Linked DNA regions of Homo sapiens: all the other regions are linked to region 4. Evidence: promoter capture Hi-C in 16 types of primary human blood cells and fetal thymus (Javierre and others, 2016). All regions are on one chromosome and are shown on one strand. Each heading gives the region's core, a stretch centred on a gene start or on the middle of the fragment in contact. The rest is flanking DNA. Distances are from core to core; before and after follow the strand shown.

Region 1 (5,922 bases), core at 205-2,704, 2.1 Mb before region 4:
GGGTCCGGCCTTGCATGGTTTTTTAAAAAGGGGGGGCTGCATAGGACTGATACTTGGGGAAACATGAAATCAGCTTGTCATTCTAGTCAGGAGTGATTGGCAAAACTCTTATGGATATGCTGCTTCTCATTCTTGCCTCTCAAATAAAGAAATGTAGGTTTAGAGAAAGACTTAGAAGAGCCATAAATAACAGTGCTATAATAAAAATACTCAGCTATTACAAAGCTAATAACTCTCATATGAGTAAAGTTCTAAGTATCAATTCATTTCAAAATTCCAGATACAGGTCATACATTCATCTCTCCTTTTTTTTAAAGATTTCTGCTTTTGAAAGACTCATCTAAATTGTCCACTATGTCAAAAGTATTTAATTCCTAGCATTAGGAAATAAACAAAAATTCAAAGATTTCAAAAATATAGTTTGGAAAGGAAGAGAAAGAGGAGAGTCAAAACGAATTAGCAATGCCCATAATAACAATGTCCTTTTTTAAAAGGACACGGTTCCAGAATTCCTACATTTATCTCTCTATCTCCATCTGTCAGTTGCTCTTCGGATCCTGCACATCAGCACATTGTGAACAGACGGTGGGTATTTTCACCCTGGACCAGGTAGAAAGCTTGCCTGCCTGTACACGCTGACTGCCTCCCTGTGTTATCTGTCCGTGTTCCGTTTGAATCCAATTTCCTTGCATTACCTCTGCCCAGGTCAGGGATGAATGGCCGTCAAATTCCCAGTGGAATAAAAAGAAAAACCCTTTTCTTCCTGAGGCAGCAAGTTTCAATTCACAGAGCACATGGCTAATCTACATATGTGAAGGTCACGGCACTTCAGTCAAAGAGGTTAAGAATGGAACAGCTCACGTAAGGGGTTGTCTTAAACATCTTGGCATGATGCCCAACAAGTGAGACTGTTGAAAAGCAATAGATAGCTCTGGCAGCAGCAAGGGGAAAAATATTTTGATCATGTGATGCCATACACATTACCTCGTTTATTTCATGTGTGAAAGTTTGAGAGTCCCTGAAAAATACCACATATGCAAATCAAATCCAGATTTCAGCTTTACCAGTTTAGCCATGCTAGTACACCTTCCTCTTCATAAAATACATTTATATGGAATTTGTGGATGCACCAAGAATAAAACTTCAACATATTGACAGCCAGCTGGCTCAAATATCTTAACAGCTGATTACAACTTCTTTGCATTAGTTTTTCCATGAAGCATGAAACTACTTAGACTGGGAAAGGGTATTTAGACTAAAAAAGCATATTCTTTTAAGTTATCCAAATATAACTGTCTTAAATAAAATTCATCTTCTCCATCTTTCTCTATTCTTCTCTTTCTCACTAATAATATAGCAATATGGAAAATTACAGAAACTTAATGCATAATAAAAGATAAAACACAAAACTGCTTACCTTTCAATTTCCCTCTTCAGTAATTAATTGTAGAATAAAACACTGGTGCTTCTAAGTGCTTGTGTCTCCGACCAATATCAGAGTGGAGGAGGAAGGACAGAGTCTTGCCATATACAATAGACATGGGTGAAAGAGGAAAAGTCAGGATTGCAGAGGGCATGTCTCTGCCTCCTGTATGCATGGCGCCTTCCTGAAATGCGTTCTGCATCAGCCAATTCAGGTTAAAGGCAGTTGGCACTAAGATGGGGGGAAAGGGATGATTTCCACACCCAGCAAAGTCATAAAAAGTATGACTGTAATTTTTAAAATTTTCCAACAGTCAACAATAATAAATACTTGTTTAATACATGAAGAAAATAAAGTAGAAGCAAAAGATCCATTTTACCAATTTGGAAATTGTCTGCCAGACACCCATTTCCTTCAACTCAAAATTCAGATTGCTTATGAGGCCAGAGTTATTGTCTGTATTTCTAATTAAATGGAATACTAAGTAAAATTTAAACACCCCACAAACTATCTTAATTAATTTAATCACCACTGTTTACTCAGTAATCTAAGGACATCACTCTATGCTCAACAATTAATACAATGTTTAACAATTTACAAATATTTTCTGGATATCTACTTCTGTGGTACAGTGCCCCTACACCAACGTCACTAAATGTTTACTGATGGTAGGAAAATTAAATTCTTCAATTATAAATCTTCTGAATTTATTTCCTCACCAGTTAAAAATATGACTGCTTAAAAAACAGGCAAACTACAGTAAACATTTTAGAATTGCTCAATAACTTACTTTTCCTAACACTGGACAAGGTAAAAACATATCAGGAAATTTGAAAACTGCCATGGTATGGATTAGAACTAAGCTTCAAATATAAACCTATTTGCTCTGAAAGACCGATAGGCTGCTAAGTAACTTGTTAAATTAACTAATAGAGAATTGCCTCTAACTCATTTTAATTCCTTATTCATGAGAAAATACAATCCTTTGTTACTCTATTAAAAGGTCCTTTTCATTGCCAAGCAGCATACACGTTTCTTATAAAGTTTAGTCCTCATGAAAATTCCATGAGTTAAGTATCCTTTCCCATTCTTTGACAAATGAGGAAACCACACAGCACAGAGAAGCGAAGTGACTTGCCTGAGGTCACACAGCTAGTAAATGCATAATCTTCCAGTGCTCTCTAACCTGCCAGCTTTTGGCTCTAGCCCTTGCCCCAAGCCCCATGCCTCTTTACCTTCACTGTTTGTTTCTCATTAACCAAGTCTTAGCTCATCAGACCTCCTTTGCTGTAGGAGCCTTCCTGCCTCAACTCCACCCCAACCTAATCTATATAAAGTGACCCTCTAACATCAAAACTTCTTTCACAAAATCCTTTACACCTTACTGTGTAGCATGTTTACTTGTCCTTAATTCCTGCATTGTCCATTTGTGGAGGTCACCAAAGAATCCCATCACCCAGCATGATGCCTGGCACACAGTGAGCTCTTCACAAACATGTGCCTTCTGCCCACATTATTGCTGTGATGACACGAATCTATAGTTCCAAAGCCCTGACGCACACAGTTCAATACAGTGAAGTAAATGAACTGAGTATTAAATCCTTCATGTTACTGATGTGAAGGCTTTTCTTTAGCAGAAAAATCACCATATGAATGACACCCAATACAAAATCCAAATTAGGATCACTTTCTCATCAACGTCACAGCACCAAAGAACAATCTCCAAGTACACTGACCTTCCACATAGAATAGCAAATACTGACCAAACGGATTTCCTTGCAACTGATATTGGAAATGAATAATACATTCGTTAGGAAAGTTTCAGCTTGGATACATCATTTACTCCATAAATACTTCTTAGATGGTGCACTTTGAGGAATATAGTCTTTTTGCATAAGAACTACAGAAGAAAACTGTAGCCATTCACTTTAATTTCCACTTTGTAAAACACCAGGAGTCTATGATAATACACCTGGGAAAATTAAGGATCATATGTCATCTTTACTCTGTGTATCTTAAGCACCAAGTGGTGCTCAGTAAGTATTTGTTCATAATAGAATTACATTTTGTCCCTGATAGTTTTATAAATCTCAGCATTTAAAAAAAATTGCTCTTTATATATTTGAGGGAGGACCCCGGTACTCTTAGATTTGACATTCCTGTTTTGACTATTTAAGAGCAGCCCTAACCCTCCATGCATAGTAAATTATAATTTTGCTAAGGATCAAGTCTAAATCATATATTCAGTGAAGATGAAGCAAACACAGAAGCAAGTTACTTAGCTAATGAGAGACCAAAGTCTAGCACCCAAAATCTCCAAGAAGCCTACTTTTAAATTTTTGCAACTTCGTTCCTTTGCAAAAAGTAATTCTCCTAAAAAGCCAGTCATTTTTTGCAGATCATCAAAGTGGGAAGGTTTAGGAAGTATAACAGAGGAATGATTGTTGGCCAGAGAAGAGACCACTAATTAATATTAGGGATGGGATATTGAATGGGGTAGCAGCTTGGGGCCAATGGCATCAGCCGTAGGCTCTGTGGGTAAACCAAAACCAATTTATACAACTGCTGAGCAAGAGTCCCAATCAGTACAAAACCACATTCTGTAAGGGAAACTACAGTGGAATGCAAAAATCTATGTATTTGCACAGGTCTCAGTTTATATTCACAGAATATGTCTGGGATCTAGTGTGGTTTAATAAGCTGTTCAGCGGTGCATAGCTGATTAGGCACTATTTGTTTAAAAATTCAAAGCAGCACAGATTTTTGGAGCTGGGAGGGGCTGAGCATCACCTAATTGATGCCAGCAAGGGCTTGTCCTGAGTCAGCCACACCCCGAAGTACAGCAGGACCAGGCAGAGAATGAGAAAACAAGCCCCACATGGGAAGGCAGGTAGGCAGAGAAGAGAGGGGCCACATACAGATGCCACAGATAGACATCCATGACCTCAGTGAAGGTTTTCAACAACCCTGCCCAGCAGCCAACATTCCAGGTAAGGAAACTGACCCCCTGCTGGAGTGCAGAGAAAATGGGTGCTGAGGCCTCCAAATGAGCTAAGGTCTGACCAGCTCCAAGCCCATGATCTTACCATTGTGTCAGGATGCCTCATCATAGAAGCTTATTCGCTCACAAATCCTCAGAATCACCAAAATAAACTAATACACAGCAAACATGCCAGTCCCCTCGGAATTATGTCTGCTTCTTCAGAAAGATACTTGCTCAGCAGTAGCAATGTTCCACATTCCTATTTCCAAGGTCATTTATAATTCATTAGTTAGAGTGAATTTATTATAAAATATACCAGTGGTAACAGAAAATTTAAAGGGCATTAAAATGGGTGTGTAGCTTGATATATGGTCACTGAATCTTAAAAGGTGGTTCTCAAGATTTCACAAATTAGACGCCAGCTTCTAAATGAATTTTAGAATTAACAATCATTTCAATATAAGGCTATGAAATATGGTGAGTGGTTTAACTTCTAAGATGCTCATCACAAAAAGAAACAGTAGATACTAAGAATTCTGGAACTGCCTCCACTAATCATCAATGCCTCGCTTTCTGAAAGGTTTATTTCAGGACCCAGAAGCAGTAGCTGAATTTACTCCTCAGCCAGCATACATTATCTAAACAGTTACCAAAAATACCCCAGCAATCCAAGTATCTTCCTAAATCTGAACAGACTGTTTTAACTTTTTTTCCAAGAATCTATGTAATGTAGAAAACTGAGAAAAAGAAAAAGGACCATTCTATATAAATTTGAAAGTGATTATATTTTCCTTCTTTTAGTTATTATTCTCGGTAGTGAATCTATATTTCGCTCTGGCACAAAGCCAGTAACTGATTGGTAGAAATGGAAAAGAGTCACTAGATCACATCAACTATATCACAACAACCTACAATTGTTGTTGACCAGATTTTGTTTTGCCAAAATATACTGCCCCACCGGAAAAAAAAAAAAAAAAAGCAGGCCAAATAGACTGCTGACCCACATGGTTGCTATCTGCAATTTGTTTAAATGAGCCAGTTCTAAGTCAATGATGTCAGCAATACCACGATCCAGGTATGGAGGGAGCAAGCGTTAGCAGTATCTCTGCATGATCCGCACACCAACAGCAGCAATCCCCAGACCCCAGCTATTGTCTGTCTCTGGCACAGGGCTGATTAAGAAAGTGGGAGCTCAATAAATATTTGCCAATTGACTGTCTGGAGTAGATATTTATCTAACATATACCTCACTGCATACACAAATGCTAAATGTTTACACCTTAAAGAAATAACTATTGCTTCCCAGTACAAGCTCTTAAGTAACAGTTCATTTCCTCTCTGTGGAAGCTGGTGTTAAAGTACATAACTGATCTTACAAAGATGTGACTACCTATCAGCATCAGCAGCAATTCCAGTACAATTCCAATACCTTACACAAACCAAAGACGCCTGTTCATGAGACTAGGCAGGATCTAGAAGTCTCCCTTCACAGCTGCCTTTAAAATGTAATTCTAAA
Region 2 (5,996 bases), core at 2,836-5,335, 2.6 Mb before region 4:
GGAGATTCAGTCAACTGAGCTTAAGAAGATGCCCTATATGTTGTCAGCAAGGGGGAAAAAGTCAGTTCCATGTATCCCTGACTTAGGAATCTATCGCACCCCACCTTCCCACGGCAGGCTACATCTGGGCTGATTTGCTGGGTCCCCAAACTCGGTAGAGAGCGCCCCAAGGATCAGGGACCGGCGGCCCCACCTGCTGGGTCCCATCCGCCACCTGGATTGGCAAGGCCTGGCCCCCCTTGCAAGTGGACCCCTTCCCTCCCTGCTCCCAGAAGCCCAGCCCAGAACGGCGTTCTTTCCGGGGGCCCAAAAGCAATCAGACCTTTAAAAGAAAAAAGAGGGAGCGCAGACTGGCATTATATAACAATTTACAGTAGATAAGACTTCTAGAAAACGAAAGCAGCCCGAGGAGGGGCGGGGGACAGGGGAGACCAGGGGAGTGCGGCGTCGGGGGAGCGGTCGCCACCACTTACTCGAAGGCGAAGAAGAGTCCGCTAGTGACCAGGATGAGGACGAGCGTCAGGTAGAAGACGCCCGTCTGCCGGGCCATCATGATCCTCCCGTTACAGAAGAACTTGTTTCTTCCCGGGAACACCTCCCATTTCCTCCGGGCCGCGATTTTCTTCTTCTTGTGGGGCGACTCCATGGGGGAGGAGCTGTGGGTGCTGATCTGGCTGTACTCGCAGTCTTTCATGGGCCCGCCGCCGCCGGGAGGCATCCACGAGGGCAGCCGGCTGGGGGCGCACACCCCCAGGAGCCCCCCGGCCGCGCGGGCCCCGCCGAGCCACGACCGCCGCCGGCCGCCCGGCCGCCCCCCGAGCCGCGGCGCCGCGGCCCCTACACGGGCTCCCGGCTCGGCGACAACTTTGCCGAGGACACCCAGGTTAACCCTCCGGGGAGCCCAACTGTCATAGCAGAATCCCCGCTCCGTGAGGGGACGGCGCTGGTCCGCAGCCCGCGGCAGCACTCCTCCGTCGCTTCCAGCCCGCGTCCCGGGGCGCGGGGCTCAGCCCGGCCGGCCCCCGGGTCGCCGAGCGCCCGCCCCCTCGCGCGGCTGCCCGCTCGGCCCCGCAGCCCCCGGCTCCCCGGCCGCGCCTCGGCTCTGGCCCGCCGACCCCCGAGCACTGCGCCCCGAGGGGACACGAGGCGGCGGCCCCGGCGCCGGCTTCCTCGGGAGCCACTTCTGCGGCGCGGCCAGGTTGGGTCCACTCCTTCCTCCGGCAGCGGATCCTCCCAGGAGAGAGCGCTGGCGACTGGGCGGCCGCGCGCGGCACCGGCAACCCCTCCCAGGGGTGGGGACAACCACGCACGTTTTTCTGTCAGGAGCCTCTCGGCGAGAGCCGGGGCGCCGCTCGCACCGCGACCCGGTGTCGCTGCGCCTGGCAGCCTAGTCGAATCCGCGGCCCCCGCGCGGGGATGCGCGGGCCGAGGGCGGCGGCGGCTCGCGGGCCGCGCGGCGAGGGCTCCCTTGCTCCCTCCTACCCGGAGGAAGCGGCCCCGGCGCGAGGAGGGCCGCGGGGACACAGCACAGACACTTGTTTGCAAGGCTCAGCCCGGCGCGCGCGCGGCGCTCCGAGTGGGTCCGCCTCCTCCGGGCCGGGTGGGCGGTGGCCTCGCGCCTCACCCGCGGCTCCTCCTCCTGCTCCTCCTCCTCCTCGCCCGCGAAGCCAGGGCACCGGCGCAGCGAGATTCCAGCCCCAGCCCCCTCGGGCGGGCGCCCTGGGGTGTGGAAGGCGCGGGGCTCCCTGTGGCATCGCCCAAGTAGGGATGGGGTCGGGCGCCCGCGGCCCCGCCGCGCAGTGCGCTCCTGGCCGACTTCAGTCCGTCTCGCGGCTTCTTCCGGGTTTATCCCGCGCAGCAGCTGCCGCCTCGGGACACGCTCATTCCCACGGCCACCGGCAAGCCACTCCTGGCGACTCCCCGGGACCTGAGGAGCCGCGGCGCGGAGGTGACCCTCCCCGGCCTGCGCCTCCCTTCTTCCTCCTCCCCAGCTGGGCGCGTGGTCGCGTCGCCCGGGGACTCTGGTGATGCCCGAGAAATGGGCTGGGGGTGCCGGGTGCCAGGATGGGGTGGGGCGGCCCTAGGCCGGCCTGACTTCGGGACCGGGCTGCGGGCGAGGGTCTCGGGGCCCGGCTCGGCCGGCTTCCGGGCCGAGAAAGAAGGGCAGAGGAAGCGGTCAGGGTCCCCTCCGGCCCCGGCCTCCCTCCCGGAGTATAAGCCCTTGGAGGCCAGGTTTTGGGTTGCTGCCGCCCAGCTCTTTCGGTCTCCACTTCTCCCCACGGACGTTTACAGCTGCTCGCTTTATTTCTCCCTCCATTCCCCCGTGGAGCCCCCTCGGCAGCGGAGGGGTCGCGTGCTTCTCCTCTCCCGCCTGCGCCTCCCCCCTTCCCACCCGACAGCCCAGGAGGAGCTGCGGGCGCGGCCCTGGGACGGCCGGAGCCTGGGGCTTCTGCTCGCTCGCGCCCTCCCAGGCGTTGCCGCGGGTCCGAGCCCCCGCAGAGGTGGGCATAGCCCCGGGGCCGCAGAAAACGAAGGCAGCTGGGCAGGGATGCTCAATTTCCCGAGCCCCACTTTCCTTTCACAGCCCACTGGGATGTGTAGTTCTTCCGCCCGCAGGCCTGCGCCGAGGAGAAGCACGACTCGGGGCCTTAGAAACTACAAGTCCCTGCATCCCCCGCGACAAGGGCAGGAGAGGCGTGGTGCTGGGCGTTCTGGGGCTAGGTGGTGGGAGATGGGAACCAACAAAGGGGGTTGTGGGGAACGGTGCCTTCTCTGTACTGGGCAGTTTGCACGTTACACATGTTCTTTGTCTAATCTTCGCCGGAACCCGGTGAGGCATTATTGTATCCAGCTTAGAGAAAGCTTAACTACTGGCCAAACATCACAAAGCTCCCAAGTAGTAGAGATGGCATCGAACCCAGAGCCCTAAGTATGTCCCTTACAAAGCGTGCCTCAGTGAGGAGTGTCGAAGGGGGATGAGATTGGCTTATCCAAGAGGGCCAGTTGGGAGGAGCTGTGGTAAGGAAAAAGTGATGGGAATAGCAATTAGAGTATGACATGCAATTACAAGGAGTTTTGAATACAAGTGAAATTTACAGGGGTCCATTCCAAAGCCGGTTAGAGTCTAGGGAGAATGGATCTTAAGCACACGATAATAATTGGGTTTTAATTATTTTAGATATTGTATGAGAGACAAGCATATTACAGGGACAATTAAGTATTTGTGGCTGGACTAGTTTTAAAAAACCAACTGGAAAGCTTCATACATTTCAAGTGAAAGCTCTCATATGCTTTCCTGTCCTTTAGCTAATGAGATCAACGGGGTATTATTCTTATTCTGTTTATTGCAAGCACCTTTTCTGTGGGTGTCCAATTAATATAATAGATCCATTGATTTGATGGCATTAAAAAAGACTCCCACTCTTATTCTCAATGAAACCGAATTTTTCTGGCATTATGGTTATGCTTTTAAAAAGTCCTTCCTTGTCTGTTAGAGATATGTACTAAAGTATCTGCCAGCGAAATAATATAAAGTCTGAAATGTGCTTTAAAACACACCAGCCCATCCACTCCCCTCCTCCCACCCACCCAGCTCCAGACATGGAGGTATAAATGAAACAATTGGAAACTGTTGAAAATAGTTGACCTTGGGTGACATGTACTTGTACTTAATTATTTATTGCTGCAAATTGCCACAAACGTAGTGGCCTTAAAACAAGACAGATTTTTCTCACAGTTTTTATGGATCAGGTGTCCAGGTACACTCAGTCCCCCACTTAGGGTCTCACGCCTGCCATCAAGGGGCTGGCCAGGCTGCGTTCACATTCACTGGAGAAGAACTGGCTTCCACTCTGACTCCGGGCACAGGCAAAATTCCTTTCCTTGCAGCAGTAGGACCGAGGGCCCTGGCTTCTTGCTGGCTGGAGACTGGAGACTGTCCTCAGCTCCAAGAGGGAACCTGCAATTCCTAGAGGTTACCTGGACTTCATTGTCACTTGGGCTTTCCGAGCACAGCCACTTATTTTGTCAGGCCTGCAAGGAGAGTCCCCAGAGTGAGTCTCCAGCAAGACAGAATTTTATATAACATAAAGCAATCCCACGGGGGCAACTTCAAATGTGAACATTCTGTTGGCCAGAAAGCATGTTTTGCACACACTCAAAGGGAGAGGAGTACACAGGGCATGAACCCTAGGGTGAGGGACACCCCGGAGTGCATCCACCACAGTGTACATGAGAGTCCATTATGCTTTTCTTACCTACCACATCTACTCATGTTTATGTTTGACATTTTCCATAATAAAAAGAAATGAATTCGTTTTAAAATGTTACCTAAAGTTTCCACAGCAAATAAGATATGCTGATATGATTTCTAAATAGCTGATACAATTGTCTGTAGTTGTCTTCCAGGGGATAACTTTTTTCTTCCCACTCCATGTGTACTAAGACCTCTGCGGTTAATTCACTTGTATGGGTTACCCTCCCCTAAGAGCGTTCACTAGAACCTGGTGTGTGATAGCTGCAGAGTTCACCTCACCAGCTACAGTTGATCTTGAACAATATGGGTTTGAACAGCGTGGATGCCCTTAGACACGGATTTTTTTCAACCAAATGCAGATGGAAAATACAGCATCCGTGGGATGGGAAATGCGAGTATTCAGAGGGCAAAGGCCCACTCTTCCTATATGCAGGTTCTGTGGAGCCTGTTTAAGGACCTGAATATGTGCAGATTCAGGTATACGCAGGTGATCCTGGAACCAATCTCCTGAGGATACTGAGGGATGACTGTAAAACCTACTGTATAAGGGATGGTAGAGTTTATTCATTTATTTTACAGTTATCTATTTCAGGGCCTAGATTGTGCTAAGTACTGTTTTAGCAGCAGTGATACAAAAAGATCCAAGATAGAAGCTTATATTTGGGGACTGGGGGAGAGGTGGAGAGAATAAACAAATAAATAAATGACTAGTAAGACAATTTCAGAGAGTAATTACAAGAACGAAAAAACAAAGCAGGGTTATGGGATGGAGAGACTGGGGTCGGGCAGAGAATCGAATGATGGGAAGGGGCAAGTACCAAGTCCTCAAGGCAGAACAACCTGGAAAATTCTAGGGGTACAAAGAAAAACCAGTCTGGCTGGAGTGGAGCGAGGGCCAGGGAGAGAGGGAAAAAGGAACAGGAATTCATTCTGTGTGCACCAGCATCAATTCTGTATGCCACACTCTGTACCCACCATCGGTGTAAGTGTTGAGGGGTCTGAAAGAAAAATCACCGTCCTTGCCCTCCAGGAATGTATAGATTCCAAACTTTAATGCTAGAGGGACGTCAGCGTATCTAGAATTAGAGACCAAAACTTGTATTTCTCAAACAAGGACACTGAAAAGTCAAAAGACCTGCTAAAAATTCCTTGAGAATGCCTCGCCAATAACAAATAATCCAAAAATGAGTCTTGAATTGAATTGAAAGAGTGCATGATCTACTTTTGCTAAATGGGGTTTAGCCTAATACTGCCTCTTTACATATTTTAAGTTTGGCCTAAAGGTTTCTCTGTACACTGAACTGTAGCCTAAATGGAAGTGTAAACAGAGTGTGATCTACTCGGGTGTCAATTACTGAGTTTTGGCCACTCAATTGTGGCCAGCTGTTCAAACCATGTTCAAATAAGACAAATGCTGAGCTGTAACCATCTGGCTGTTTCCGTACCTCATTTCCGCTTTCTGTACGTCACTTTCTTTTTTCTGTCCATAAATTCTCTTCCACCACGCGACTGCACTGCAGTCTTTGAGGCTACCCTGGCTCAGGAGGCTGCCCAATTCATGAATCATTCTTTGCTCAGTTAAACTATTTTAAATTGAATTCAGCTGAAGTTTTTCTTTTAGCACTTTAAAGCTTTAGAAAATTGATAATGTTTAGTGCTTGTCACGTGCAGGTCAGTATGATGAAGGTAAATGCGGCAGAGAAACTACAGTTAAGGTTGGGAAACAAGATGGAGGCACATG
Region 3 (5,317 bases), core at 938-3,437, 2.3 Mb before region 4:
AAGGAAGGAAGGAAGGAAGGAAGGAAGGAAGGAAGGAAGGAAAGAAGGAAGGAAGGAAGGAAGGAAGGAAGGTAGGTAGCTTTTGGAATTCAAAAATATACTTGCCGACTTCCAGATAATGAAGCAGTAAAAAGAAATGTCCCATCCTGGGTAACAAGGTGAAACCCCGTCTCTACTAAAAATACAAAAAATTAGCCGGGCGCGGTGGCGGGCGCCTGTAGTCCCAGCTACTCGGGAGGCTGAGGCAGGAGAATGGCGTGAACCCGGGAAGCGGAGCTTGCAGTGAGCCGAGATTGCGCCACTGCAGTCCGCAGTCCGGCCTGGGCGACAGAGCGAGACTCCGTCTCAAAAAAAAAAAAAAAAAAAGAAATGTCAAATTTCCCATTTTTAATTATATGTATAAACACTTCAGTATAGATCAGCAAAAGCTAAAAGCATCTATTACTGTGAAAGTCACTGGATTGTTGAAAAAAATTTTCACTGTTGTTTCAACTTATTAAATTTAAGGCTATGAGGTCAGGAGCAGTGGCTAACGCCTGTAATGCCAACACTACTCTTTGGGAGGCCAAGACCAGGGATCACTTGAGGCGAGGAGTTCAAGACCAGCCTGGGCAACATAGTTAGACCTGCATTTTTATAAAAAATTAGCCAGGCATGGTGGCACATGGCTGGCGGGAGCATCGCTTGAGCCTGGGACGTTGAGGCTGCAATGAGCCATGATCGCGCCGCTGCACTCCAGCCTGGGCAACAGAGTGAGACCCAGTCTCAAAAAAAAAAAAGTTAAGGCTACAAAAGGAACCTGTTAGGTTGGCCACAGAACAAACACGGAAGCTTCACACAGCAGGGCAGACTATGAGAGCTGCTGGCTACACTAATCTTCTATAACGTTGCTGCATACTCAGTAAGTATGAAGGATTATGAAAATGAGCTCCTAAGAACTGACCCTACAGGTCTATTAAAAATGCAATGAATATTCCACATGTATGCTGGGCATTAAATAAAAAATGAAAAATTCACAAGACAACCATATGTTAAATACTGTAAATAATACTGAATTAGGTTCTATTTAGAATAATTTCTTTTAGTAATTTTTGGCAGATACAGAAACATAAAAAATTTATTAGGGTTATAAACTTGAGTTGTATCAAGTATTTATAAAGTATTAATTTAATTTTCTTCATATATTTATGAATGTAAAATTGTGCTACATTTGTAACCTCAGAAACTTTGCTTTTGGTAGCATTACAGTGTCATCTTACCTGTCATTACTGTACAACTGGTAGACTGTGCTTTTGAAATGTCAAGCATATAGGATAAAAAAATGGTAAAATATATATATGTATATATAAATAATCCAACTTGGTTTCAAGCCAAAGATGTAGCACATGGAGGAGTCACGTGAGGGTCATCACCAATACCTGGTGTTCTGTAATAGTTTCTACCAACCTTCCTATCCTCCCAAACTGACTTCCGAAGTAACTGATGGCACCTACCCTATACTTCTACACCTCTATATGAAAATGAAATCAGAGTTCTCTAATAAGTGTCTCCTAATTTACTCAAAATTTAACAAATTTAAAAATTATCACCAAATATGTACAAAAGGCAAATGCCTCCCAATTTACTCAAAATTTAACAAATTTAAAAATTATCAGGAAATATGTACAAAAGGCAAGTAATTTGATCGACAATTCAGGTCTGGAAGATTATAATTTTTAAAAATCTGTAATTCTTCCTCTTGTGTTCTCTATCTCAGGGTGACACCATATTGTCCCTGGACTCATCTTGAGCTCCTCTTTTCCTACTCTGCATACCCCAGCAGGCACCAGACCCTGCACACTGCGGTTGCCAGTCCTCTGCCCTCTGACACTGCTTCTACTATGCCAGCTCAGGCCTGTGTTCACTTTTACTGGGTCTATTCAACTGCTTTTGACTGGTCTCTGGTTAATCCGTCCTCCAAAAAGTGGCCAAAGTCATCTGTCTAAATTGCAAATCTGACCACTACCTGGCTTAAAATCTTTTAATAGCTTACCATTTTTTATAGGAGAAAGTTATCTTTAACCTCTCCAGTCTCAGATCTTGCCACACAGACAGAAACTTAACTACTTTTAGCTTCCTCAGATATTTTTCATGGTGGCTGTTCTACCCGAAAATAGCTCTCATTTCTCCTGCCCTCCTTTCTTGCCTCAGTATAACCTAAGCCCTCAAAACTCAGCCCAGGGATCCACCTCCTAGAAAGCCTTCCCATTCTCCACTCCACCCGACTCGCAGCCTCTGGCATGTTTCTTGCATGGATACAGCTACCCTGTGGGATGATTTATCTGCTTATAGGCTTAGATCTGTCAGCTGGTCATGAGGTCCTCACGGGAAGGAGCTGGGTTTTCAATCCGGTTGTAACTGGACGGTAGGGGTTCTGTCTGAAGCGGGGACGTTTAATAAATCAATGAATAACACTGGAGCTATGAACTAAATACAGCACTCTGATAACATCTTACATTTCAGTAGCCCCAAACTGGGGCAAAATTTAAGCAAATCTTGTGCTATGCCGAATTGAAATTTAAAAGTCAATTACTGCTAAACGAAACTCTTGTTTTCCTGTATTGTTTCTTTCTACACAACAAAGAAGGTAATGAAAATACTACCACAGTCTAATCTTAATCACAATAAGAGAAATCTTAAACTTGTGAAGATTTTTAAACCTCAGTGTTTTGATTATGATTAAAAAAAAAATAAGTCCCCTCTGTTGAACCTTCAAATCCACCTAGGAGGAACTGACAAAAACCTCCACAATGAACTACACCAGACTACACACCTTGAGTCCAAAGGCTGCATCCTCCGAGGCCAAGACTTCAACCTGAAATCATAAGGAAAAACATAATTTAGGCACTATCAAAAACCTCTTTGAGTCTAGCCACAGAAACCAGACACAGGCATGGCCTAGAATTGAGAGTTCTGAGAAAACTGGCATTCCATTTATGTCAGTTGTCAAGAAAGAGAGATCTGTGAGTATCTTCAAGAGCTGGGCTGAAATCCCAGTCACCGTCTGGGTTTCAGTTCTATAAGACGGCGGGAGCTCCTATCAAATGAATCCATCTGCCATCATGTGGACGTAGTGGTTGAAGTTCCTCAAAAACAATCCAGGGAGTGAGTAGAATCATCCTTCTCACCTAAATCACAACATGTTGCATATGCCTTTTGGTCTTTTACTGACAGACAGTGAGGGGAAGCTGCCCTTTGTAGAGCAATCTCACTATGCATGTGTGCTACCAGTAGATTCTTGTCCTGCTCAGATCAGAGTGGGCAGCGCTGGATCTCTGGAATGTTGCAGAGCAAGAGTTCCTGAAAGCAATACTCTGGAAAAGGCAGGCAGTGTCTAAGCAACAAGTTGTGAAATGATGGCAAAACTTCAAGACTGCCTGTCAGTCTCATGCATAGAAGACAGAGCTCATTAACATGAATTTTAAAAAGCTGCGAGGAACAAAACGTGTATTGATAATTACTGTTTTTTAAACATAATTATTCAGTGTCGTGTGTAAAGCTTTTAACTTTGACTATTGCAAAGTACCAATACACGATGGAAAAGAACAAGGAAAGAAGGCAACAGAACACATCTGAGTATTTTTAAAGAGGAAGACGGGGTGGGTGGGCAATATCAGACTGTAACAGGCTTCACTGTCAGTTTTAAACCTTTTAAAACTAGGCATGTGTGGCAGGTGTTTAAGTAGAAGGCACATAGGCCTATCTAATGTATCCTGCTATAAAACAAAATTGTATTCTTCCCTTGTGGACAGAAAATATAGAAAGGAAGGCCATGACAATAAGACTTTCATCCAGTATGAAAGTTAAAAGGGTCAAAAGAAGAAACAAGGAAGCAAATTGTCTTCTCCAACTGCTTCACTGAAAGCCAGGCTCACTGACCACCCCCTGGCACTGGCAGAGCCTGGTGCGGAAAGCAAAAGAAAGATACTACCATTAGGGATGGAGATGAGCAGCCTCGTTTTCATAGAAAACCATATGTTGCTGATACCAAATATGATTTTAGGCTAAAGACTGAAATGTTGGATCAATTATAGTAGAAAAAATCATTGTAAGTTTCACTGACAGCATTTCTGTTTACATTTTAATTTCCAAGGCTGTTAGATTTAGAAACAAGGCCTTATTATAGACTTTTCATTTAAGAAAAGGAAAAAAGATTACATGTTTGAATTTCCCAAGCCCTGACTTTCACAATGCTAGGTTACTAACCTCAACTATTTTTTAAATTAAAACCTCTAATCAACATTGGAGACTTTAAAGGAAAAACGCGAACAGGAAATATGCTGAATCTTAAATACTGTGAACATCGTATGACATTTGCTTGTGAATTACACATATAGATCATATCTGCATACCTCACCCTTGATGTGCTATTTTTAACACAAATAGAATTATTTTTAAAATATATTACAGTTTAACTTTGCAAGAAAAAATCTTCAGTGAGTTCTGCATATTTTATCATATTATAAAAAGTCAATGTAACAAGAAAATTCAATAGCAAATAGAGCTCTATTTAAAGATAAGGCTTTAATATATTTGACAACTTGAGGTGAGAGCAAATCAAAGCTTTCGTGTGAAATTTAGAACTCTCCCTGTGGCTATTTCAGCAGACAGAGACAGTGACAGACCTTGTGGGTGGGAGGAGGGAGTCAGATCCCACCAGGGCACCCTTCACCCCAGATTCTATCTCCAGGAGGGCTGGGGGAATTGTTTTGAAACTCTTAATATACCTTTAAACGAATTTAATTACAGCAACTCTACAAAAGTATTTATGTTTTGTTCAAAAGCACTATTGTTTACATATATATGTACCCTAGTTCAAGTATCCTTTACATCCTCTATTTCTGTAAGATTTTAATATCAGCAACTACAGAAAATCAGCTGATTTTAAAAACATGAGGTTATCCTCAATTTAATACAAAGGGAATATCAATGTCACACAAGGTTTTCACGCTGAGTCTAAGAGCATTTTTACCTAAGTTGGAAGGAATCCCCCTCTAGTGGGAGCAAAGGAGTATTTCAACTTTCACACTTAATTTCCAGGTAGTAGTCATTAAACTTACCGGCCGAAATCAGCTAAGCTTTTTTGTTCCTTTTGTCATAAATTTGAACAACAATAACAGAAAAGTCAATAACTATATTTCATAAGACAAAACCACCCATCATTCTTATACATAAATTAGAAGTAGATCTGTGTTAATCCGATTAAAACAAGAATATACAACTGAAAAATTTGGGAAATTCTCAATGGAAAGACTGGATACTGTACTGGGAAGACACA
Region 4 (5,892 bases), core at 34-2,533:
AGACTAGTAAATTCAACTACACAGTGAAAATGGAATCTGCTTTTTAAAATCTTGTTTGACACGTGAATGAACCAGCGAGAAATGTTTCCCCCATAATCTTCCATCTCTCGATGCACAGATCTCTCCCTACCATTTGTCTTTATGTCGTGATGGATTAGAAGAGGAGCGAGTAAAAATAAAAGATATTGCAGAATAACCTTTGCCTGCCTACCAACCATCCAATTAGCTCAAGTCCCTAGCTGGCAAATTACCTAGTCAACAATGCCTCAATTATAAACACTACGTGTAACGTGACCACAGATCAACACCCCGTAGGTTCATTTCCCCCACCGCCCCCAATCGGTGTTAGCCTCAGTGAGGACCCGGGAAGGTCTGGAGAGTCATGTCCAGCGTCCACTTAAATCCTCAAAGGCCCAGGAAGGAGGTGGGCGGGCCAGGCCTCGGCGGAACTGACCTCGAGGGACCTGTCGGGAGTCTCCGGGTGAGGGCCCAACCGGGTCTTTCCCTCCGAGCTCGCAGCCATTCCATAGGACGCCGGAGACGCCAGAACCTCCCTCCGCCCCAGGGCGGCCCTCCCCCAACCCTCCTCCCGGACCCGGGGGAGGGGCACCCAGAGGAGAAACACCCCTCCCCCACGGGCACTGCTAGGCCACCGCTCACCCCACCCTTAAAAAACCCGCAGGCCCGCGCCCACCCTCCGGGCCCCGGCCTCGACCAGGGGTGGGGGCGGTGCGGGCAGGAGCAGGGGAACCCGGCTGCCATACCAACCTCGCTATTGAAGGTCTTCACGGCCTCCATGTTGTCGCTGCGGAGGCCCCGAGCCCGGCGGCGGAAGAGGCGGCGGCCACTGCACTGGGTGGGGAGAGCGAGACGCGGGCTGCTGCGTGGCCGCGAGGAGGGGGCGCTGGCGGGAGAGCGGGCCGCTGCGACCTCGGGGCGGAGTGGAAGGGCACGCGCTGGCGGGGAAGGGCTCCCTCAGCGGCAGAGCGGCACCGGCATGGCCGCTAGGGCGGGGGGAGCGCCGTTCTAGGGAACAGAGGCGCTGCCGGGGCGGGTCGGCGGCGGGCGGGGGAGGGGCTGGGCCGCGGCGCCTTCTCTTCTCTGCCCCGCTCCGTTTCGGTCCCCCTCCCTCTAGCCCCTTCCCCTACACTCTCCACTCCCTTCTGCCCCTTCCTCCGACGGGCTCCTGTTTCACCTCCCCGCCGCTCGGGCCGCAGGAACCAGCCCCGCTCGGCGAAGACAGAGGAGGAAGCGCTGGCAGCAGCGGCTGCGGCATCCAATATGGCGGACTCGAGTCGGGCCGCGCAGTTCGGGGATCCGCGGCGCCGGCTAGCGCGCCCCCTGGCGACTGGACCGTGCGAGCCCCGGCGGCCGCGCGGAAACCATCGAGCGCGCTGGGGCCAGAGCGTCGCCGCCCGTAGGCCCGGCTGGGCTCCGCTGCCCTCGCCTTGGCTCCGGGGCCGCCCGCGCCTCGCCCCCTCCCCGCGCCCCGCGGACGCGGGAGTGAGCGCTGCGGCATCCGGGGGAACGCCGCGGCGGGTTTGTACAGCAGGAGGAGGCAACTCCAAAGCGCGGCTCTAATAAGAGCCTAAACGTGCCCAAGAAGCGGCAAGTTGAGGAAATGTGCGCGTTTCCCTTGTTTCCCGGTGGATTGGTCCTTTTGCACAAGCGGCAGGGTTTAGTTGCTTTTCACAACTTTACTGGACAGTGCCCTAAACATCCGCAGCCTTCGCCAAGAAAAAGTTCCTGGTCATCTATTTAGTAACTGAACTCAATTGTTTTAACTGCACAGGGAGGGAACATTAGAAACCAAAGCCTTGGATTCGGGTTGGGGCAGGCGGCGAGGGAAACAGGCATGCAGCAGCTCCTTGCAGGAAATGCCCGCTGCATAGGATCCAGGGACTGGAGTGGCACAATGAGCGCATTTGTCTGCAAGGCGGGAAGGGGACCCTAGAATGCACAACACTTGAATAGGTGAAAAGGGAACCCGTCTGTTTCGGAAGATGAATTGTTCTAAAGGAATTTTGCCCTAGGATACTTGGAGTAAAGGTAAATACAGTATTTCTTAGATGGATTAGGAGATGCTGCTAGTAAAAAGCCTTCTCTCTCGTGCAGCGCAAAATAAGGTACCAATTTAAAAATACTTATCGATGTTAAAAGATAGGGATGTATCGTGGAACCCCGAACACTGCTGTCCTCTTGTTGAAAGTCATTTTTCAACAATCATTCCCAAATTCACTCAAAGGGAGAGAGGAACATAAGGGCAGGATCGTACTTTTGGAGAGTTTTGGAATCAAGGTAGTTCCTAAGAGCTGTGCGCAGAGCCCCGTGAAACTGGGAAAGTAAGGCCCTTCTTGAGGTTTCAGAGCCTTCATTCTACTTCATTGGCAGCTTTAGTATAGGGCCTGGCTACTGAGAAGGTAACAGGGATAACTCACCAAGTGCTTTTATATTTACTTTCAAAATCTCAAATTCTGTCACAGATTTCTCCACCGTCTCCCATCTTCAGGCCTAGCCATGATCTTTTACTGACACTTGCAGTAGCCTCCTAACTGGTCCCTTGCTTGTCTTCCTACAGTTCATTTCCAGACAGTAGCCGAGGGATGTTTTTCTTAGATAAATCAGATCAGGTCACTCCCTTACTTAAATCCCTTAAATACTTTCTCATTGCCCATTTGATACCATCATAACTTCTCACCATGGCCTGAAGGCCCAGCCCAGCCTGCCGCAGCTCACACCACCTTCCCTTGCTCCCTGACTCTCCTCCTGCCACACTGGCCTTTCTGTTACTTGACAAGAAGCAGTGTTTTCATAGGTAGGACAATTGTGTCTCTTCACACAGGGTGCTGTTGCTCTTGTCCTTTCCATAGCTGACTCCTCCTCCTTCAATCTTCCTGAAAGAGGTCCCCTAATCACTCCATCTAAAGGAGCATTTACTGTGGCTTGAGAAAGTACTGCACTCAGTTCTGTGCATGCCAGGTTCTCACAATCAGAAGTCACTGCTTTGAGGCCGGGTGTGGTGGCTCTCGCCTGTAATCCGAGCACTTTGGGAGACCGAGGCGGGTGGATCACCTGAGGTTAGGAGTTCGAGACCAGCCTGGCCAACATGGTGAAATCCCGTCTGTACTAAAAATACAAAAAAAGTAGCCAGGCGTGGTGGCACGCCCTTGTAGTCCCAGCTACTCGGGAGGCCGAGGCAGGAGATTCGCTTGAACCCGGGAGGCGGAGGTTGCAGCGTGCCGAGATCGCGTGACTGCACTCCAGCCGGGGCAACAAGAGTGAAGCTCTGTCTCAAAAAGAGAAACAAAAAAGAAAAGAACGGAAAAAAAAGGCGCTGCTTTGGCCTGTGAGGGATTATTTATTAGGTCATACATGAAATGAGTGTTGATGGAATTACTTAGGCCTGAGAAATTAAAATGCAATACAAGCTAAAGGATAAAATCAGTGGTTAACATGCTTCACAATTTGATTTAATAAAGCTTCCGCATTCAGAATGGTAACAGAGGGCATAGTTTGATCAGGGTAAGCAGAGGGGGAAGATACAGAGAGCAGCCTAAACACAATCTTTTTTTTTGCGGGGTGTTGGGGCGGGGCTGGACGGAGTCTCGCTCTGTAGCCAGGCTGGAGTGCAGTGGCACGATCTCGGCTCACTGCAACCTCCACCTTCTGGGTTCAAGCGATTCTCGTGCCTCAGCCTCCTGAGTAGCGGGGATTACAGGCACGTGCCACCACACCCAGCTAATTTTTGTATTTTTAGTAGAGATGGGGTTTCACCATGTTGGCCAGGATGGTCTTGATCTCCTGACCTTGTGATCCGCTTGCCTTGGCCTCCCAAAGTGCTGGGATTATAGCCGCGCCCGGCTTTTATTTTTTATTTATTTATTTTTTGAGACTGAGTTTTGCTCTTGTCGCCCAGGCTGGAGTGCAATGACGCGATCTCGGCTCACCGCAACCTCCGCCTTCCGGGTTCAAGCGATTCTCCTGCCTTAACCTCCCAAGTAGCTAGGACTACAGGCAACCGACGCCACGTTCGGCTAATTTTTGTATTTTTAGTAGAGACGGGGTTTCACCATGTTGGCCAGGCTGATCTCAAACTCCTGACCTCCAGTGATTCACCCTCCTCGGCCTCCCAAAGTGCTGGGATTACAGGCATGAGCCACCTCGCCCAGCCTAAACACAATCTTAATATAAGAAGGCGATAAAGCAAGAGAAGGGTTAGAGGGGAGCCTGGGGTTCCAGTGCAATGACTATATACAAAATTTATACACAACTACATACAGAGTGTGAAAACAGTACCCGTGTGTGTGTGTCTGTGTGTGTGTGTGTATGTATGTACGCTAGGATTCTGATTGCCAGTATAACCAGCCAATTTGAGCTAGTTTAAGCATAAAATAATAATTCATTATTACAGTACAGGTTTTTCTCATGTAACCAAAAGTCAGAAATGTAGCTGAGTCCAAGGGAGGGACTTGAACCAAAATAGAAAACCTAAGAGGCAATGTAATCTCTGCTTATCTGCTTAATTTTTCTATTGCTTTACCCAATTCTCTGTTTTATCTAGTGGAATCTATTACTTTTGGTTTTATAGTTCTAGACAACTTGAGGACCTGAATGACGACCTCTTCCTTCCCAAATCCAAATTCCCAAGGAAAGAAATAAGGAATTTCATTGACCCAGCTTGGATTAGGTGACCATCACCAAGAAACTGACCACTAATTTGGTTCTCAAAAGACTGATAGGAAATAGTGGTCAGGAGTACTTCAGTCATTGGAAGAGATATTTCATAATCTAAAGTTTCTGGTGTTCTCCTGTAAATGTTATCATCAGATTGTCCCTGAGGACTAAATAGTTTCTGGGAGTAACTTATAGAAATGAATTCAGCCATGGCCAAGAGGTCAGAGTCAAAAATAGTCTAGAGCAGTAGTCACCATAGAACTTTCTGGGGTCATGGAAATGTTCTGAATCTGTGCGGCCCAATTCAGTAGCACTAGCCCTGTGTGGCTACTGTGCACTTGAAATACGGCTAGGGCAGCTGAGGAAGATAATTTCCAATTTTATTTTACTTTAATTGACTCATGTTTAAGTATGTGGCTAGTGGCTACCATATTGGAAAGCATAGGTCTAGCTAGAGGGTACTCGCTCCCATGGACAGGGCACTTCTTAGATAAGGGATAATTGTGAGGTAGCACTAAGCAAAAAAAAAAAAAAAAAAAAAAAAAAAAAAAACAACGTGAATTATCAGCTATTAGAAGGAATAATATATGTTTATGAGGTACTTTTAAAACGGGGCAAAAACCTGGAGCATTGTCTAAATTAAAACTAATTCCCACCCAATTGGAAAAAAGAAAACTTAGGAAGCAAACATTCCAGAATGCTTAGTAAATTAGGGTATAGAGACAAATGAATTATTATACTACCAATAAAATGATTTTTAAAAGATTGTGGGAAACTATTTGGCAGTTCCTCAAAAAACTAAGCATAGAATTGCCATATGATCTAGCAAGTTCACGTATGTGTATGTAGCCAAAAGAACTGAAAGCAGAGACTTGAACATGCATGTTCAGAACAGTGTTACTCACAATCGTTAAAAGGTGGCAGCAACCCAAATGTCCATTGATGGATGAATGGATAAACAAAATGTGGTACAATGGAATATTCAGCCTTAAAAAATGAAGGAAATTCAAGGCCCAGCACGGTGGCTCACGCCTGTAATCTCAACACTGTGGGAGGCCAAGACAGGCAGATCACCCGAGGTCAGGAGTTCGAGACCAGCCTGGCCAACATGGTGAAACCCCATCGCTACTAAAAATACAAAAATTAGCTAGGCGTGGTGGTGCGCTCCTGTAATCCCAGCTACTCGGGAGGCTGAGGCAAGAGAATTGCTTGAACCTG
Region 5 (5,273 bases), core at 2,423-4,922, 2.0 Mb before region 4:
ATTGTTATTAATGTTTTCAATATGTGCATTGTCCCCTAGTAACATTTTAAAAAGCAAGACTTCTTAACCTTAGGCAATGACCCACTTGTACTAGTGTGGACTCAGTTTTCATTGAGAGAAAGCATTTAAAACCTGGCAGAAACAATACTTACGGTTTTGGTAGAGTATAGTTTTCCAAAATTATTTCATTCTTCAGCTTTCCATAAAAACTATTTTAGTTCATTTCCACTGCAGCAGTGGTTATTTGTTTGACCAAGTGTAAATATGTTACATGACTAAATAGAAAAGGATTGATGGGAAAACTGGTGACTAATTGGGGTCGGGGGGAGGGAATCAGGTGCACACCCAAGGGTCATTATAGAGTGTAGAAACAACAAATTGCAATTCTACGCAAACAACTGGAAAACGGGATATATCATCGTGTGTTAGAGAGAATAACAGAACCATAAGATGAATTCGTGCCAAATCATTCATCAGTTTTTGCCAAGAGAATACTACATCTTTGTTAGTGTGCCTTTTTGACATTTTTTCCTGGATTTTCTCCCTTTATATATTCAAATACATACTAATTATACGCATTACACCACAGAAGTTGAATTTTTAGTTTTTCATATGCAAATATAAATATATGTCTGTTTTGTGTGTATATACATATATTCTAAAATCAATTACATATTTATGCTTTTAGACATAGTCAAACTAAGTATGTACACATCATCCTAAAAGTGCATTTTTTCAAATTGATAAAATATATCAAAGTCAGTTCATACAAGTGTAGCCATATGTTGTGGCTTATTTTCACAACTAATCCTAAAAGGGAAAATGAGTCACCAAGTTCAGCTATGGCCCTTTTCCTTAAAATATTTTTTCATATTGGCAAATCGTGAAACTAAAAAAAAATTAGTAGAGAAGTCAAAATCTCTTTTAATTCCATTTGCTTCAGCAAGTCAACTAGAAGATTGGAACTAAGAGACTATAAAATAGAGGCCCCCAGCACAATGAAATCAGTCTGCTATAAAAGGCGACACATGCCAGTTTTTCCTCCCCAATGGCAGATGCCACACCCTAAAGCAGACAGAAGGCACTGCAGCCTGTAGGAGAAGCACAACACAAAGCCGGCAGGACTTGGTTTTGTCTTTTAAACCACGGAGAATGCTAAAATACCTTTCTAAAGCATCTTTGCTGAAGATAAGAAGTGCACTCGAATTTGCTCAACTTTTCATACACACCTCAGGAAAACAAAATAAAAGCCTGTTTAGTTTCATTTAAACATCCAGGGCTTAACAAACAAAACACCAATTGTCAGGGGTCTGTTACAAAGTGATGAAATAGGTTCCCATTACACAAAAGCACAATTTCAACCACAGGTTCAAATTTCCATTGTGTTCCTTGCCTCAACTATCTCATATGGCAATTCTACCTTATTGTTTCTTTTTGATGAAATAAGGTACTAGAAATCACTGCGCTCATTTTTCCTAATGAATTCCTTAATTTTACACCTCTTGCCTAAATTTCAAACCACAATGACAACTTTAATAAGTTACCCTAACCACAAAGAAGCCATGAGGGGAAGGCCCGGAGGCTGCCCGCAGCCACCCTGGGTTCCAGCCGACCTCCCACCCACAGGGTGCTCCCCACGCCCTCATGTTTAGCCAGAGGATTACCCATTATTTTGTTAAACATTCCTTTTTGGTTACAAAAGACTTTTTTTTTTACTGTATGGAAATATTAATATTCAAATACTGCGCCTTTTGAATAAGTTTTAGGGCACTGAATAAAAGGCTCTTCAACTTGGCCACTTAAAGGGGATTGAGCCAGATGGTAGTTTAAGAATTCCACAGTTCTGTTCTTTTTGCCTCATCGTAGCCCATCATACTCTGTTTGCTTTCAGATTAGTCCCCTTTTACTGTTCTACTTATTTATTCGATGACTGAAACTATCACGATTCACTGCCCATCATATTTCTAACTATTCTTTATGTAATTTGGAAGCAATTTAGAATAAAGCCCTGTCAAGGTTTTACAAATAAGAACTATTAAAGAATAAAGCTTTGGATACTTGCTTTCCTTTTAGATTTATGAGAAATGCGATGAATAGAGCTAATGGGATTTCCCTACTGATCTTGGTCAGGGACTTAAGAAAGCACGAAACAATTGTCCTTTTCACTTCTCCGATTTAGACGTTAGCAGTGAATAACTGCGTCACTGCAAGATATGGGATGTAGCATTTGATTTGAAACAACTGTGCAAATCAATTAGGTAGGATTTGAAAAAAAAAAAGAAGCCTAGGCAAAAAAAATAGTTCAAATTTGGGAACTATGGCAGACGGTAGCACTAATAAACTTACTAAGAAAATTATTGTGGGGATAATAAACCTGGATGGAGATACACTGCATGTAGTCATTCAACAAATTTACCTAGAGTCTACCTTGTGCCATGCCTTGAAAATGAAAGATAATTACCTTGGTCCTGTCCTTCATAGGGGAGATAAACAATTAACAATCACTCATACCTACTAAGGTCTGCCCCTCAATGTCACATGGGATTTGGCCAGTAAAGAAGCAAGCTCAGACCTTCCCCATCCCGCAGCATTTCCTGCAGCGGAGGCTTGCTGGCTGCCATTAGCGGGCAGCTGACCCTAATCCTCCCGCTGACACAACTCCGACTTGACACCTGGAACCCACCACTGTGGAGTCTGGACTTCCAGAACCTTAAGTTTAACATCAGGCTACTACAGTTTCTCTCCAAATTCCTTAGAAACATAGTAACACCAGTGAAATACATTAAGAAACACCTTACTACATTTTAATACATTGTACTTTTTATTTTATCCTGGACTGTCCGCTTTTGAATGACTTTATCACAGCCTCATTTATAAATTTCTTGTAACTTTTAGACAAATGTGTGTTCAATGGCTGCTTTTATTTCCAGTACTGTCCTCAATCATTTTGCCATTAGTGAAAATCACTTACTGAGCACCTACCAGTGTTTTTCAGTATTCTACATCACATCATGTAGTCATCTTTGTGGCCGTTCTTAGTGATAACATGCTGCCTGGCTGGCTAAAGGTCCTGCATAGGTAACTCCACTCTAGTTCCTCAAAATAAATATTTGGGTAGTAAGCATATATAATCAGGTATACAAATAAGTCACTTGGCAGTTGAATCACCTCAGTTTTCTAGAAAAGTTTCAGGAACTTACCTGAAGGCCTTCTAGGTCTCTCACAGATAATGATTAATTGCTTTATAGTACAGGTAAACTTTGAGAATAAGACTATGTTTCAAAAACAGTAAGTCCCAAATAACAATAACTCGTGCATTAATGGAGCGCATTCCTCGTTTTTAGTTCACCTTGCTTATACCTGATGACTTGGTTTCTAATTCATTATGCGAGTCAGTGAGCACCTTTAAGGGTTTATGACAGTCATCTAATTGTCTTGGTCAGGGCCAAAGGACTTGGTTATATGCTTTTCATACCAAAATGACATAATTTCATTGAGGAATCTGCTTATTAACCCATTCCCCTAAAAATGCCCAAGTTAAATATAAAGAATTTTTTTCTCTCTCTAACTTGAAGTTACATTGCAACATGTAACTCTAAGACTTAAATTTCAGTGAGCTCTCCCTGGCATCTTCTTGGGCCCTCAGGTGACACCTGTGTCAAGCTGTACTCTGTGTAGTATAGGTGACCCTCTTTCTCAAGGACCGGACATGCCAAAAGGTTTCCCTGCCAAAGCATAACCCACAAGGAGCATCTGGGAAGGGGACTCCTTGCCTCAACCCCAATTATTCATTTGACAAGGAACTGTCTATCACCTACTCTGCCCTAGCCCTGTGCTAGGTGCTGTGGGCACTGGAGTGAACAACAAAAACTAATAACACTTGACCACATTGAATGTACCGGATCATTCATTGAATGATCACTAATGGAGAGTTACAAAGCAATGGGTTCTGAAGGAAAGGTACAGGGTTCTATGAGGGAAATAGCCAAGGAGCCTGATGCAGACTGGGGGCTGAGGGACAGCTTCCCTGAGGAAATGTGACTTGGGCTGAACACTAAAGAAAGAGGAGAAAACATTAAATAAAGAAGGGAAAGAGTGCCGCAGACGGCAGGAGGCAAGTGGGACTGGAGAGCAGGGTGAGGGCAGGCATGCTGGGAGACAGGGACCACCATGCTTGTCCCAGGCCCAATTAAATCAGGGCTTGTGACCCAAAAGCAGTGGGAAGTAACCAGGGCATTGAAGCAGGGGGCTGACATCAGATCTGGGTTATAGCAAGAAACCACTGCTAGGAAGACAGCATGTTGGCAGTGCGGCCAGAGCTGGAATCGGGCGGCAGGTCCCGGGAGTCGGGGCTCAAACCTCTGGGACCAGGGCGGCCTGGCCACTCTCATTTATTGCGGCTCTGAGGATATTATGATATTTTTTAAAACCATAAAAGAGGAGCATACAAATGTTTATTTTAATGTTTACATTTTTAAATTCCTAATGTACAGACTCAAGAATACAATGCTATACAAATATGCCTTTTGCAGAATAAATCTTAAGATTTATTTATTTTTTAATTCATAGGGCAGTGTGAGCTGATCATAGATCCCAACCTAAAAAGCAAAAAACATGAAGAACATCTTTTAATCTAGTTGTTGTTATCTCTAGGACTAAATGTATAACTGTACCTGGCAACAACACCGCGTCTAAATGTAGGCCTCTTTATAAATGGCTCTCCTAATTATCTGTGATGATTGCGCATAGCCCAAGTGAGAAAAGAGAGATGGTGGAGTTGTATGGGGACCAGAGGGACTATGGGGATAGAGATAAGTGAACTGACCCCACAGAGTCCACTACTTCAGAATGTGCAGATTGCTCACTGCTCAAGGCCAAGGAGGTGGGTGGGGGCTCTGATTCAGCCAGGGCCTTGCATGCTACTCATTGAGTCCTGGCACAGAGCTGAGTCCACTGGAGAATGGGGTGTCTTTTTCTAACTTACACAAAGCTCCATGTATGCTAGCAGTGGCCTCCATGAGAGAGACAGTGAGGAGGTAACACTGAAGAATGAGGTCGTAGATTAGATAAGGAGGTGAGAGGATGGCAGGGCCGAGGCCTTCTCTTTCCTCTTTTTCCTCTCCACCCTTTCCTGCCCAAACCATATTGGCATGAAGCAACTGGAGATTCCAGCTTTTATCCCTGCCGTCCAGACCATTCCACACTACCCATCAGTCCTACCCAGCTTGCTCTCCCAGCCCTGCTCTGATAAGCCAACCCTGCTCACCATAGAA

Evidence for each region. The method cuts DNA at HindIII sites, captures the fragments that hold promoters and counts their contacts. A CHiCAGO score of 5 or more calls a contact.
Region 1: a contact is called between a fragment that was not itself captured here and the fragment with the promoter of SCAF8 in region 4, in 1 of 17 cell types (neutrophils). The highest score is 5.5, in neutrophils.
Region 2: a fragment that was not itself captured here is called in contact with the fragment with the promoter of SCAF8 in region 4 in 1 of 17 cell types (fetal thymus); the score reaches 7.6 in fetal thymus.
Region 3: a contact is called between a fragment that was not itself captured here and the fragment with the promoter of SCAF8 in region 4, in 1 of 17 cell types (neutrophils). The highest score is 5.7, in neutrophils.
Region 5: a fragment that was not itself captured here is called in contact with the fragment with the promoter of SCAF8 in region 4 in 1 of 17 cell types (neutrophils); the score reaches 5.0 in neutrophils.

Annotation. Positions count from the first base shown.
Region 1 is chr6:156,786,409-156,792,330 of GRCh38, reverse strand. The region is part of intron 1 of ARID1B (AT-rich interaction domain 1B); the gene reads right to left. Among named protein-coding and RNA genes, the nearest start is that of MIR4466, 9.6 kb to the right of the region's middle. The HindIII fragment of the contact is 1,669 bases long and covers 620-2,288 here.
Region 2 is chr6:157,376,744-157,382,739 of GRCh38, reverse strand. LOC124901446 reads left to right here and starts at 1,649. Exons shown (of 1, transcript XM_047419644.1): 1 at 1,649-3,426. The coding sequence starts at 2,039. The coding sequence ends at 2,929. It overlaps ZDHHC14 (zDHHC palmitoyltransferase 14), which reads right to left and starts at 1,550. Exons shown (of 9, transcript NM_024630.3): 1 at 474-1,550. The coding sequence starts at 718. RefSeq lists enhancers at 493-632, 1,391-2,002, 2,614-3,226 and silencers at 723-772, 1,283-2,172, 2,333-2,412. The HindIII fragment of the contact is 1,650 bases long and covers 3,261-4,910 here.
Region 3 is chr6:157,034,372-157,039,688 of GRCh38, reverse strand. All of the region lies in intron 4 of ARID1B (AT-rich interaction domain 1B), which reads right to left. Among named protein-coding and RNA genes, the nearest start is that of MIR4466, 260 kb to the right of the region's middle. The HindIII fragment of the contact is 2,707 bases long and covers 834-3,540 here.
Region 4 is chr6:154,728,807-154,734,698 of GRCh38, reverse strand. SCAF8 (SR-related CTD associated factor 8) reads right to left here and starts at 1,283. Exons shown (of 20, transcript NM_014892.5): 1 at 769-1,283. The coding sequence starts at 798. RefSeq lists silencers at 511-1,110, 1,261-1,380, 1,411-1,650 and an enhancer at 747-1,250. The HindIII fragment of the contact is 14,602 bases long and covers 1-3,481 here.
Region 5 is chr6:156,771,006-156,776,278 of GRCh38, reverse strand. It overlaps a transcript of ARID1B not described here. Among named protein-coding and RNA genes, the nearest start is that of ARID1B, 3.7 kb to the left of the region's middle. RefSeq lists a silencer at 2,470-2,764. The HindIII fragment of the contact is 3,243 bases long and covers 2,051-5,273 here.